Regions from separate parts of the Homo sapiens genome. Here region 1 is linked to region 2. The links are contacts of gene promoters, found by promoter capture Hi-C in blood cells and fetal thymus (Javierre and others, 2016). All regions are on one chromosome and are shown on one strand. Each heading gives the region's core, a stretch centred on a gene start or on the middle of the fragment in contact. The rest is flanking DNA. Distances are from core to core; before and after follow the strand shown.

Evidence for each region. Contacts are between HindIII fragments. The CHiCAGO score rates a contact against its expected background, and 5 or more counts as called.
Region 1: a fragment that was not itself captured here is called in contact with the fragment with the promoter of MED4 in region 2 in 1 of 17 cell types (megakaryocytes); the score reaches 6.4 in megakaryocytes.

Annotation. Positions count from the first base shown.
Region 1 is chr13:46,834,046-46,841,493 of GRCh38, forward strand. HTR2A (5-hydroxytryptamine receptor 2A) reads right to left here. Exons shown (of 4, transcript NM_000621.5): 4 at 1-1,594. The coding sequence ends at 792. Among named protein-coding and RNA genes, the nearest start is that of HTR2A-AS1, 14 kb to the right of the region's middle. The HindIII fragment of the contact is 808 bases long and covers 5,728-6,535 here.
Region 2 is chr13:48,091,862-48,098,784 of GRCh38, forward strand. It overlaps MED4 (mediator complex subunit 4), which reads right to left and starts at 3,243. Exons shown (of 7, transcript NM_014166.4): 1 at 3,093-3,243. The coding sequence starts at 3,217. RefSeq lists a silencer at 2,452-2,746. The HindIII fragment of the contact is 8,460 bases long and covers 1-5,032 here.

The sequences.
Region 1 (7,448 bases), core at 4,882-7,381, 1.3 Mb before region 2:
AGGCATTTGGTAATGTTAAATCATCCTTTTGCTAGTTTACCTAGAGGAACAAATATTAAACAAGACCACACTGGAAATTCAGAGTAAAGCACAAGAAGTAGAAGAGAAAGCAGCAATAGTTATTGAATAACATTTGAAGTCTTTTTCACTTCTGAGAATTAACTTGAAATGCAGCAAATGCCAGCAACCTTGTGAATATTTCAAAATGGTATCTATGAAAAAGCAGGAATGAAAAATGTTGTCAAGTATTTCATTTAATTATCTTAGCAATACAGATTTTATAACACTGACCTTAGTGGCTTTTTTTTTCTCCTTTCAAAATATATACCATAGTAAGTTTTAAAGATAATTTTTAAGAGGCCATTATATTCAATAAAATTTTCACTATTTATAGCTATTTTTATTTACAGCAATAGGTAACCAACTCAATCCCATGTCATCAATGAACAGCATAGCAGCAAGGTTTCCACTTGAAAATAGAAGTTAATTTAGATTTACTTAGGGCTTCATAATTATACAATAAAAGTGAATCATTTTAAAGACATATCATTTACAATGTTATAAATAAGTATCAGAAAGCTCACAGCTGAAATGCTGTCAGAACATTTTCCAAGCACACATTTTGTAGCATTGAACCCCGCTTTTCATTGACAGAATAAAATGAGGCATACAGATATGATCGTTGGTTCCACTAGACTTGTCTAATTTTTTCCAATCTCATATTTTTTTTTTTCCAGATAGGTGAAAACTTGCTCAGTGTGCCTTCCACAGTTGCCACGGCAACTAGCCTATCACACACAGCTCACCTTTTCATTCACTCCGTCGCTATTGTCTTTAGAAGCCTCTTCAGAATGCTGCTTTCCTAGAGCAACCATTGAGCAGTCATTATCTGTTGTCTTGGCATCTTGCTTTGAATTCTTTTTTTGTCCCATTTGAAGTTGGCTAGACTTGTAGGCCAAAGCCGGTATTGTGTTCACTAAAATTAACTGCAATGGTTTTTTGTTTTCCTTGTACTGACACTGAATATACCGTGAAAAGGCTGACCTATAGGTCTTGTTGAACAGTGTGTAGACTAGTGGGTTGACTGCTGAAGAGAGATAACCGATCCAAACAAACACATTGAGCAGGGCCCCAATGACATCCTCATTGCAGGACTCTTTGCAGATGACGGCCATGATGTTTGTGATGAAGAAAGGGCACCACATCACCACAAACAGGAAGAAGACGATGCCCAGCACCTTGCATGCCTTTTGCTCATTGCTGATGGACTGCATAGTCCTCCTGCCTGTGTAGGACCCTGGCTCCCTATGGATCGACCGCTGGAAGAGCTTTTCTGAAGACAAAGAACTCTGAGGGAGGAAGCTGAAAGAAGCTAATTTGGCCCGTGTGCCAAGATCACTTACACACAAAGTAGCTTCTTTCTGGAGTGACTTGATAGTTAGAAAGTAGGTGATCACCATGATGGTTAAGGGAATGAAAAATGACACAAAAGAGCCGATCAGGACAAAGTTATCATCGGCGAGTAAGCAACTCCCCTCCTTAAAGACCTTCGAATCGTCCTGTAGCCCAAAGACTGGTATTGGCATGGATATACCTGGAGTTGAACAGAAAATGAAACATGATTATTAAGGAATTAAGTATATGAAGGCAAGAGCATCATCACATAATATTGGCTATTGAAAAGATTTTATATCATCGTTTAAAAGCTTAACATACTTTGAGAATTTAAAATTCCTTTGGACTTACATATGTGTTTTGTAAGTATATATTATGTAGTTACTTGTATGTTATATTGCCCTATATAGCTAACCCTTATAAAGAAGTATAATAAATCTAGCTTTATTTTTTATGCCACATTTTTCTGATTATAATATTATACTTATTAATTGAAGAAACACACAGAGAGGCAAATAAACTAAAAATTGTCCAATAACGTCACCATCTAGAGATAGCCACAATTAACAACTGATGCTGTTCATTTTATTTATTTATATATTTATTTATTTTTGTCTATGAAAATCTAGAATATAGATTTGTTTCTTTTTTTGATGCTGTTCATTTTAGATACATTCACACACTTACCATGTGCACACATTTTAAAACAGAATTGAGGTTCTTTTTCACAAATAGTTCTGTATCTTTTTTAAAAAATCTAATAATATGTCACAAGCATGGCTTATATATAAAAATAACTATAAAATTTTAAATATAGTTTATTTTCTCTCTAGAAAATTTGGGAGGTACAAAAATGTAACAATGAATAAAGAAAAATAATATGTATTCTCACCAGTCAGGGGCAACCATAATTTACATTTGCATCATTTCTTCTTCCACTTACATGTACATATAAAAGCAAATGTGTATATGCAGTACTTTACATGCAGTACTTTGTACCTTATATGTTTTAGATCTTCCTATTCCATTTAACATTATAAATCATGATAATTGCACATAAAATATTTTTGAGAAATACAATTTTCTAATATTAATTTAAAATAACCAATTTTAATTCTTTTTAAAAAAGCTTTTATTATGGGACATTTTTAACATACACACAACTAACAAACCAAAAACCAAACCCAGTACAGTGAACTCGTCACCCAGCTTCAAAGATTATCAGCTCAAGCCCAATCTTGTTTCATCCATATGTCCTCTGGCTGCCATCCCTCCCATGTTATTATGAAGCAAATCCTAGACATCATGTCATTCAATCTGAAAATATTTATTACGTAGATCTAAAAGCCATGCACTCTTAGACAAACCTAATATTTTCACAATACCATTCTCACTCCTAAATAGAAGTTTAATATTTCCTTAATATTAAATGTAGAGTTAGTGTTCAAATTTCCAATTGTCCCATAAAGGTTGTTCTATGTTTTTAGTAGTAGAGCATTCATAAGGATGGATTGCAAAAAACAAGACAGCCATAGACTTTTTATTGACAAATATAAAAAGTAGGTATAGGATGAGATAATACAGGGGAACATGGGCCTATATGGTTCATTGCTCCATCACCCAGATTTGGGGGATCTGTAAGGCTCCCTCAGGTACAGGGATTAGGCAGAGGAGGAAGCAGAAGTGAATAAAGGCAACCCCTGGCCTCTAATCATGCTATGTGCCCCACTTGATGATAGGACCTTTTTAAAGGAAGATTCAACTGGCCATGTTGTGCAGTTTCACCACCCAGCCCCCACCATGGACAACCTCTCTGCTCCTGGGGAAATAGGTGTATCTTTCTCTACTGGCCTGGGATGGTTGGTCCAAGGCAATCATGAGATGGCTTATTCTCTCTGCCATAAAGGTAGAATCAGGATGATAAAAAAGAGAGGAAACATGAATCAAGTACTCTGTATAACTTAGTTTAAGATTGTTTCTTTCATGAAATGGTAGATATTGCAGGGACAGCCTGGGAGAAAAAGTCAGAAAAATAGTTCCCTTCTAACTCCTGCCCATATTATCAGCACACTCAGAATTGTAGAACAAAGAGTGTTGTGGTTACTGCTTCTGACCGTCTTTAGAGTCTAATACATGGTCTCACACCAGCCAAGAACACCGGTTTATTCCAGAATTGGGGGCCACTGCCTCACTCTTGCCATCCATCTGGAAAAAGGTTTTTGGAGAATCTCTAATCTAACTTCTGCATACTCAGAACAGAGTTCCGCTTCATCCAAGCACAGGCATGACTGTCCTAACCTCATGTCACCTCACATTGGCCATCGTGGCCAGGAAAGAACGCTGAGTTGATGTAATATTCAACACAAATCTTTCTTAGTGACATTTGCCATTATCTTCAAAGACTTAATTAACAATATTTGTCACTTGCCTATGCAAGCCCATCCAGGATTCTTGGAAGGTGGAGATAAATGACATCAGAGCTGTTCATAAGGACACTTATTGTGGCTAATGACTCTTCATTTCCTCCATCCCTCTCTGTTCCTGGCCCATTGTTTGCAACATTCAAGAAGAGATTGATGAGCTGTGCCTCCAAGGAGAACATCCTCTGAGACCCTGGATATTGACCAGTTTTGCTTATCCTTCGGAAAACTCTTGATTGTAAAAGTAAGGGCATGATTTCTAAGAAGAGTGTTTTTCTCCCAGTGTTTGAATCTAGATCTGTGAAAGATATTTCCTGTACTCATGTACAAGGTCTTCTTAGACAGCACAGTTGCTCATTGATTAGAAAGGATGCTTTGTTCAACCATTTGAGACATCCCTGGATTTGAGTCTTGGCTGTGGCTCTGGGCTCCTGAATTGGTTACTTCATTCCTATAGTCCCCACTTCTTCATCTATCGTGGGAGGCTGGCACCAACATACCTTCATGCATTTGGTGAGGATAAAATGGATCAAATTTGCAGAGCACCTAGCACAGCACCCAGTCCATAGTGATGTTCTACCAGTGGTCAATAAACATGAGAGTAGCTTTCTCTGCAGAACTATTTATATTAAATATATCAACATTATTTTATTCTAATCCATTTTGCTTAGTTTGTATACACTAGATTTTATATAGCAGATCTTTTTAAACCAAAAGAGACTAAAAAGACTTTTGGCTATTGGCCGTAGAGTTAACACTGATGTAATTTTAGCTTCTGCCAGGGTGACGCCGGGTCTTAATCAATTTTAATTTTGTGCAGCTAGAACTGTTGATTACTTTCCTAATGTGATGAATTACAGCATTACTATTAGTCATGATACACAGAAACAAGATATCAACCGTCCAAAAAAGGTGTGTGATTTTGTTATTAAACTCTTGAGTGTTCTTTTTCTAATTAATACAAAGGAAGTAACTACCTTGAGAGCCTTTTGCCCTATTTGCTTATAACCTAGTAATGTACATAAGTGGCAATTCTCAATTAACCAGAATGTGGGCTTACCTAAAATGCCAAATTCTTTAATTATTTGGAATAGTGTCTTTGGTTGGACACACACATACACACACACACACACACACACACACACACACCCTTACAGAATAGCCCAGTTTCTGAGAGGGGTGATGGAGTCATCTGCACTGAAATAGAGAATCCCTCTCTTAAATGCCCGGGATAAAAAGCCACTCTACAAGAGGATGTGGTAAGAGGTTACACGCAGAGCTGTTCTGTCTGGAAGGGGGATATTAATTTGGAAGTGGAGAATCAAGCTGATCAGTTATTTAAATGGCCTATTCATCTTTACATATAACAAAAACATCCTGAATACTATCGTATACCATTCTTTTTCCATGCCTCACTCATAGTATCTGGTCAGCAAGGGTTGTAGAAAGAATAACCAGAAAGTTAAAGTAATACTCTATAAAGAGGAGAGGAAATTTTATGTCAAAAAACTTAGAACACATAGATAGGCTTTGTGGGTACAATCAGCAGCTCAAAAGCATGTGCCTCTACCAAGAGAGATGAAGACATGGGCTGATATCCAATATCGTGGTCACAGCCATCTCTAGGGCATTAATTATCTGGCTGCTTTGTTTGACAATAGCTGCTTTTGGAGACCTGACATCTCCTCTCACTTGAAATTTCTGCATATAAAGCATTTTCCTTTATGAACAAAACAGACAGTAACCTGAATTACATGACTCTGCATTTTGTTTAATATATTTTTTCTGAAGAGTGGAAAACAGCAGTCAAAATTCACTATCAGTATTAGATCCTCTATGTAGCATTTTATTCATTTCCATTGAAACTCAGACAATAAAATGAATGGGAAACCTTGACACCTAAGAACACAAAAGCTTTGGTTGGTGTCTTTCTTTCAGCATGGCTCTGCTTACTTCCTGCACATAAACTTTGCACCTCTAGTTAACATCTTACCACAGGCTGCATCAATAATTCACTTTGAACCGCTGGCTGTGAAGGACTGGCTTTATTCTTAATCTTGGACTTTTTCTGAGACAGTGTACATTTCTTGGGAAATAAGAAGATTGCCTTCCTAGATAACCATTCTCTTGTAGGGAACAGGACAGTGGCAGTCCCTAGGGCCCTCAGCTGGAAAGGAGGTGGAGGGCAGAGAAGTTATTTCGGGGCTCTTGTGAAAAAGATTGAAATTTGGGTTCATAGGTTTCTGTTTCCCCAAACTGCTACCTTTTCTTTGAATTTTAATGCATGCTGTATTTTTCAAGTTATAAGAACAAATTTACTAGTAGTTTGACAGAAGACACCACTGGTAAACACTGCAGGATAATCCTCATATTACAGGGAAAGAAGAATTGAATATATAGGGCAACTGCCAATGGGACTCACTATCCTGATACAGAGTGGCTAAATTCCTTCTAATCTATGTATGGTGTGTTGACAAGGCAGATGTACATAAAAATGAGAGCTACACAAACATGTCAGTTACCCAAAAGCTGTATGTTTCTTTTTCTCAGATTAATTCCAAATAGCTCTGATAATAAATTGCAACTTTTCAAGGTATTATCACACATATTTGTTTATTCACTCTAAATTGATTTTTACAAAATTGTTAAAACATTACCCACACCTTCTTATGGGGCAGATGAAAATCTCACTTTACAGATATGAAAACTTGGGCCTACCAAGCTTAAGTAATTTAGTTAGAATCACACAGAAAGTTGGGGGCAAAATCAAGACCTCTACTCAGGGTTCTTAATTCTTATGGTGGATTTTTAAAAACTGCTTATTTGTTCCTTTGAAGGTAGTTACAAAAGTCTATGACTACCTCTGAGGTTTTTAACATTGGCTTCAGGAAGTCTATGATAATCCTAAAATCTGAAAAATTTGTATATATGTATATTTCCTTGGAGATAGATCTTTCCTTAGATGGGCAGAAAAATTCTAGCCCCTAATATGACTAATAAGCACTAAATTACACCAATTGATATGGTTTCATTCTGTGTCTCCACCCAAATCTCATCTTGAATTGTAATCCTCATAATCCCCACATGTCGGGACAGGGACCTGGTGGGAGGTGATTGGATCATGGGGAGGTTTCTCCCATGCTGTTCTCGTGATAGTGAGAGTTCTCACGAGATCTGATGGTTTTATGTGTTTGACAGTTCCTCCTTCCCACGCTCTCTCTCACCTGCCACCATGTAAGATGCACCTGCTTCCCTTTCTGGCATGATCGTAAGTTTCCTGAGGCCTCCCCAGCCATGTGGAACTGTGAGTCAATTAAACCTCTTTCCTTTATAAATTACCCAGTCTTGGGCATTTCTTTATAGCAGTGTGAGAACAGACTAATACGCCGATGTTGCATGTACAGCACAAACTCTCTCTCTCTCTCCACCACCCCCACCAGTGATTTTCTGTACCTTGATTTTGTTTTTGCATTCTTTCATCTCAAAGCCACAAGTTCCTCTAGCCAGACATTAAATTCATTGAGGCCAGAAAAATAGTTCAAAAATAAAATCCTTATAATCAACATTTAGTTTCTTTCAAATACTAGGGAAGTTATTCTCAACTGTAGCTGCACATTAGAATCACTGAGGGAG
Region 2 (6,923 bases), core at 1,993-4,492:
CCTAAGGGCACAGCTTTGACATAAGACACGGATTAAATGAGAGAAGTCAGCCAAGATGTCTGGAAGGAAAGAGCACAGTAGAAGACACAGACAGTTCAGTGCCCCAAAGATGGAGCTGAGGAGGTGTAGCCAGGGCCTGGCACAATGGGGAGAGGAAAGCAAAGTGAGGATGTAGCAGCCAGGTGGCTAGGGGTGAGATTACGTAGGGCCTTATAGTTATGGTAAAGATTAGTGTTTCATTCTTTTTTTATTTTTTATTTTTTGAGATGGAGTTTTGCTCTTGTTGCCCAGGCTGGAGTGCAATGGCGCGATCTCGGCTCACCCCAACCTCCACCTCCCGGGTTCAAAGAATTCTCCTGCCTCAGCCTCCCTAGCAGCTGGGATTACAGGCATGTGCCACCACGCCCGGCTAATTTTGTATTTTTTTTTTAGTACAGATGGGGTTTCTCCCTGTTGGTCAGGCTGGTCTCGAAATCCCGACCACAGGTGATCCGCCGGCCTCGGCCTCCCAAAGTGCTGGGATTACAGGCATGAGCCACTGCGCCCGGCCTAGTGTTTCATTCTAAATGCAATGAGAAGCCACTGGGTTATTTTAAACAGGGAAATGGCATGACCTGATTTATACTTTTAAAAACTGTTGAGTGATCTGGTAAATAGACTGTAAGAGGGCCAGAACAGGAAGTAAGTTAGGTGGTTTCTGTAGTGTTCCAGGCAAAAAATGACACTGGTTTTGACGAGGTTATAGCCTCCAGGACTTAGTAATCGTGATGGGAGAAACATGGACAGATTTCAGATATCTTTTGGAGGTAGAGCTAACAGGACTTGCTGATGGATCAACAGCGTATGAAAACAGCATGTTAAGTAAACTTTTTAGTGTACGCCACAAGTGAGACATAGACGGTTGAGAACCTCTGGTCTAAGTAAAAGCTGGTTTCAGGTGGGGCAGGAGTGGTGCTGACTAGAGTGGGGCTATGGTAGGAGATGTGGGATAAGCCTTCCTCTGTTCTTGCAAATCTGGGAGCGTGAGTCCACAGAAGGCTTTACAAGGCTTGCCTTAGGCGCCGGAGTAGAGGGGAGGTAGAAGTCTCTAAGACTTAGTCATGTTCTGTAACAGTCCAGGACAAAATAGAAACCCCTGTCCTCCCCAACTGCGAAAAAGAGGCCAAAGGAAGCCCCCACACTCAAGAGCCCTGTCCTGCTAAAAAGAAGGTGCATTCCCAGCATACTGCATTAGAATCCAGACACAATTCCCCATAGAAATAAAATTTCCATAGCGGTTAGAGCCTACATTATTAGCAGTAATACACTTTTCAGGTAAACAGAATTAACAGGCTGGTGTGGAAAACTCAAGATTCCTATCAACATGGTTCTGTGGAACAATGAGTTTTGAGTTACAAATGGGTTAAAAAAAACGTTTAGCCTACAACCTGTGTTTCAACTTTTTAAGACTATCTCCTTGCATTACATTTTATAAACTAATAAATATCCCGAAAGGCTATATAATCAGGTTAATAGAAAAAAAAAGATCCTAAGTTATAAATCCACTATTTTTAAAGAGGCTAAATCTAAAAATATGTAAGGTATATTCGTGATTTTTCTTCTCATTTTCATAAATGCAAGCCAGACACAAATTACATTCAGAGACTGACAAACTTCACAGATCACAGAATCAGTACACATAACTACCTCTGAGTGAACACATGAGACCTTTCTGGAAGCCAGTCACACCACCAGAGCAGCTTCATTCTGTGAAGAAGTTCCAATGATCCGCCCGCCTTGGCCTCCCAAAGTGCTCGGATTATAGGCGTGAGCCACCACACCCGGCCCTAATACAGTTTATTTTAAACAGTGGATCAAACACATAAGCCATTTAATTTCTGCTGTCTAGGTGTTTTCGGGTTTTCTTCCATCATTAAATATTGTGCTGACCTGGTAACTTGGTAGCAATACGATGGCAAGGACTAAATTTACACCAAAAATAAAGTGCTGATTATATCACGTATATTTTAAAATACAACAGGTAAGATTTATTCTAAAGCTGTCAAAGAATGTTGGCTATAGAAAAAGTGACATTTGAGCTGGATTCTGAAGGATATATGAATCATTCACCAAATCGGGAGTAGACTGGGAATGGCACTGAAGATGTGGAAGTCTGACTAAAGAATTTGAACTTTACCTCACTGGACAACGCAAACCTACCAATGAGGTAGCTTTTATATAATTTTTCTGCAGAAAAGTGATATAAGATGCCTTTTAAAACTGGTATCGGCCAATATAAAAGGATAAAGTGCAGAAGCATGAGGCAATTAAAACTGTTTGGGAGGCTACATTTAAGAAGGAGTTATGAACAGCGGGGTTGGAACGAGAGGGCAAATTGGAGCGACACTTTAGGAGGTAGAACCAAGATAATTTACCATCCAAGTCAATGGGAGGGAGTCAAGGAAGGCTTCAACTTGAAAGACTTATCATGAAAGGTGACAGAATATGAAGAACGACATCTAATTTCATCTCCTATCTCTGACACACAACCATCCTAAACAACTTGCAACTCCACCAAGCCAGGCTTTTTGCACTTGCTGTTCCATCTATCTGTGCTGCCTAGTGAGTTTGGCGAGCTCATGCTTCCCAAGCAGCACTTTCTTCAGAGGGCCTGCCCTGACTACAACCAAAAAAGGTGCCTAGTCCCTGTGCTCCAGTACCCCGCAGCGCAGCCCTCTAATAAAAACAGGCCCCAAGCCAGTTTACACATCTGTCTCTCTCTCGACAGCTGGCATCCAGTCTACCCTTCACTACCGTCTCCCCAATGCTGAGCCCCCAAGGAGCGTTCCATAAATGTTAAGTGGCTGGCCGCGGACGAAGAGGCTCAGACCGCGCGAGTTCTTATCATTACTAAAATTCCCTCTAACGGGAAAAACCGCCGCCCAGAGTGCCAGAGGGCTGCGGACCCCACGTCCATGACCCTCATGCACCCGAAACTCCCGAGCTGGCCCTCCCCGCCGAACCCCGAGAACGAGCACAAACGCAGGGCCGGCCGGCTCCGGGGTCAGTCCCCCGGCCCAGCTCCAGCCCGGCTCTCAGGCTCGCCGCATTACCTAGACAGGACCTCCAAGTCCTCAAGCGCAGACAGCAGCCGCTCTCGTGTGCTGTTACCACCCGCCACTCCCAAACCGCCTCCCAGCCGCTCCTTCTCCTTCTCACCACTCGAAGACGCAGCCATTTTCCCCAGAGTCCCGCCACCGGCGCACGCGCAGAGCGAGCTGACGCAGGTGCGTGGCGAGAAGGCGGGCTCGGAAGGCGGAAGAGTCACCCAGGAGAGGAAAAAGAGGCCTGGCGAGAGCGCCCCCTTTGGGCCTGGAGGCGCACTGCGGACACCGGCGCCATCTGTTGGGCCGGCGAGGGCTTTCTGGTCCAAACCCTGGGAGCGACAGCTGAACTGAGAACAGTGGGGGCAACGCAGTCTGATTCTCCTGGGCCTAATGGTTTTTTTTCTTTCTTTCTTTCTTTTTTTTTTTTTGAGACGAGTCTCGCTCTGTTGCCCAGACTGGAGTGCATCGCCGCGGATGTCTTGGCTCACTGCAAGTTCCGCCTCCTGGGTTCACGCCATTTTTCCTGCCTCAGCCTCCCGAGTAGCTGGGACTACAGGCGACCGCCACCACGCCCGGCTAATTTTTTGTATTTTTAGTAGAGACGGGGTTTCACCTTGTTAGCCAGGATGGTCTCAATCTCCTGACCTCGTGATCCGCCTGCCTCAGCCTCCCAAAGTGGTGGAATTACAGGCGTGAGCCACCGCACCCGGCCCACCTTAACCATTTTTAAGTGGATAGTTCAGTGGCATTAAATACATTCATACTGTTGAGCAACTATCCATCTCCAAAACCTTTTATCTTGTAAAACAAACTCTGTACTCACTAAATGCTAACTCCTTATCCCTCCCTTCTCCAGGCCCTGGCAACCACCATTCTACTTTCCATTGCTGTAAGTTTGGCTACTCTAGGTACCTCATATAAGCAGAATCATACAGTATTTGTCTTTTTGTGTCTGGCTTATGTCACTCAGCATTATGTCCTCCAGGTTCATCCATGATGTAGCATGTGCTGGAATATCTTTCCTTTTTAAGACTAATATTCCATTGTATGCATATGGCACCTTTTGTTCATCCATTCATCTGACGATGGACAGTTAGGTTACTTCCACATTGCTATAATCCATCTTTATAGCCATACATCTTCCAACAAAATGTTTTGCTCATTACTCAGGTTAATTATTGAACTGAAGGAACCAATACAGTACATAAGTAGTAGTTAATTAACATAGTTTAAGTCATTGATGTACCACACATTCCAAACCAGAACTGGTTGTCAAAGGCAAAAATACGTCTTAGCCTACTTTTCCTAGGGATAACAATGTAGTAGGGATCACTCTCTACCAGAAAAAAGCAAAGTTACAAGCCTATTGGGAATGAGGATTCCATATTGCTATTATAAAAGATGGTCTGGGACTGCCTCACTCCCATGAGGTAGTAGTACCTGTAGTCCTTTCATTTCAGGGTCTCATCCTCTACTCTGTCTTTTTGGAGGTGCTAAACCTGACTCCTGGGCACCCAGAGTTGACAAGTCTTTTAGAAATTCATGTTAAATAAATTCACTCATAGCAACTGCTGCGTAATCTAGAATGCTGATTTACTCACTTACGATGAAAAGTAATAGTGCCAAACATATCTTTTTCCCATAGACAAAACTATATGAGAAGCCATATTATCACAGGATGTTGCTTGTTAAACTTGGATCAGAACAAACAAGGATAGATTAAAAATTAATGACACAATCATGAGGCTTTGTGTCTCCACAGTGTAGGGATATTTGTGTTCAAGAGATTGGATTATTTGTGTTCATAGGTCAGGGTACCTTTTCCTCTAGACAGTGCAAGAGATCCTTGTCACCTTTTGTTTTCTGACCGTTCCCTGCATCTGCTGTTGGCTAACCCTTTTTTGTTAATGCAGTCAATTCTCAGGCAATGGGCTAAAGTAGATTGAAGCTTTGTTCATTACACTTGCATTCTAAACATGCCTCTCAGTACTCTAGTCAATCATTTCTTATGTTAAGTTTCCAGGGTGCCAAACTTCTGCGGTATGTGTTGGTTTTGTTTACTCAACTCTCACGGGTCATATTGAGCCATGACTCTGGTAGGAGGAGAGAGAACATTATATTAGTGTAAACATAAAAATTCTAGAAGGATTCTAATTAGTTAAAAATGACCAATTATAGTCCTACTTTGCAGACACTGAGGATCAGTGTGTGGAGCATGTATGTGTATTGTGAACTCCTGACCTCCTCAGATTTATTGCAAATTCATATGCATATTAAACAGTTTCTATAGACTGATAAGTAATAGCATCTTTCACAGATATACTGTCTTGCAAATTGTACAAATCCAGGCGTGATAAACAAATATGAATTATTTTATATAGTATTACTGAATTCATGGTAATTTGGAGTTAGGTACATATTTTCTCAATCTGTAGATTCAAAAAGGACACTACTTTCTCATGAAATTTTATTGACATGGTGGGCAGTGTTCTAAGCACTTCAAAAATATTAACTTGTTTAATTTTCCTAACACTCCTATGAGGTAAGTACTGTTACTATCCCTATGTTACAGATAATGAAACTGAGGGGCAGAAATGTTAAGACACATGCCGGGGTCATATAGTAAATGGCAAAGCTGGAATCTGAACCCAGAGTCTGGCTCCAGGGTCTGTGCTCTTTACCACTGGTTATCCCAGCTCTCTGTAAAGAAAGAAGGATATTCAGGTACTAAAAGGACTGGGAACCTCTGACCTAAAATATGAGAGGACTTCAAAAAGTTCATGGAAAAATGGAATTAAAAGATAATAATTTAAAATATAAACTTTATTTCTCAACATAAGCTCCATCTAGTTCAAGACACTTTTGTAAATGACGATACCAGCCATTTAGTTCATCCCTAAATAAATGAGGGCCCTTGGAATTTAACCGTGTCAATGCTGTCTTTTTTACTTTTTTCTTTTCTTTTTTTTTTTGCCACAGGGTCTCACTCTCTGTCACTCAGGCTGGAGGGCAGTGGTGCAACCACAGCTCACTGCAACCTTGACCTCCCAGGCTCAAGCAATCCTCCCAATACATTATTAACTGAAGAAAAATGAGTGCCCTTTACAGATTTTATTTATTTATTTAGTTTTGAGACAGAGTCTTGCTCTGTTGTCTTGCTCAAGCTGGAGTGCAGTGGCACAATCTTGGCTCACTGCAACCTCCACCTCCCGGGTTCAAGTGATTCTCCTGTCTCAGCCTCCCGAGTAGCTGGGATTACAGGCATGTGCCACCATGCCTAGCTAATTTTTGTATTTTTAGTAGAGATGGGGTTTTGCCATGATGGCCAGGCTGGTCTCAAACTCCTGACCTCAAGTGATCCACCCCCCTCGGCCTCCCAAAGTGCTGGGACTACAGGCATGAGACACTGAGCCTGGCCCAGATTTTTTTAAGATTAGGAAACAAAAAGAAGTCAGATCAGGACTGTAAGGTGGATGTTCAATGATTTCCCATTGAAACATTTCCAAAATTGTCCTTGTTTGATGAGAGGAATGAGCAGGAGTATTGTTGTGGTGGAGAAGGACTCTCCGGTGAAGCTTTCTCGGGTGTTTTTCTGCTAAAGCTTTTGCTAACTTTCTCAAAACACTCTCATAATAAGCCATTGTTATCATTCTTTGGCTTTCCAGAAAGTCACCAGACAAAATGCCTTGAGCATCCCAAAAACTGTTGCCATGCTGTTTGATCTTGACTGGTCTGCTTTTGCTTTGACTGGACCACTTCCACCTCTTGATAGCCATTGCTTCGATTTTGCTTTATCATCAGGATTGTGCTGGTAAAGCCATTTTTCATCTCCTGTTA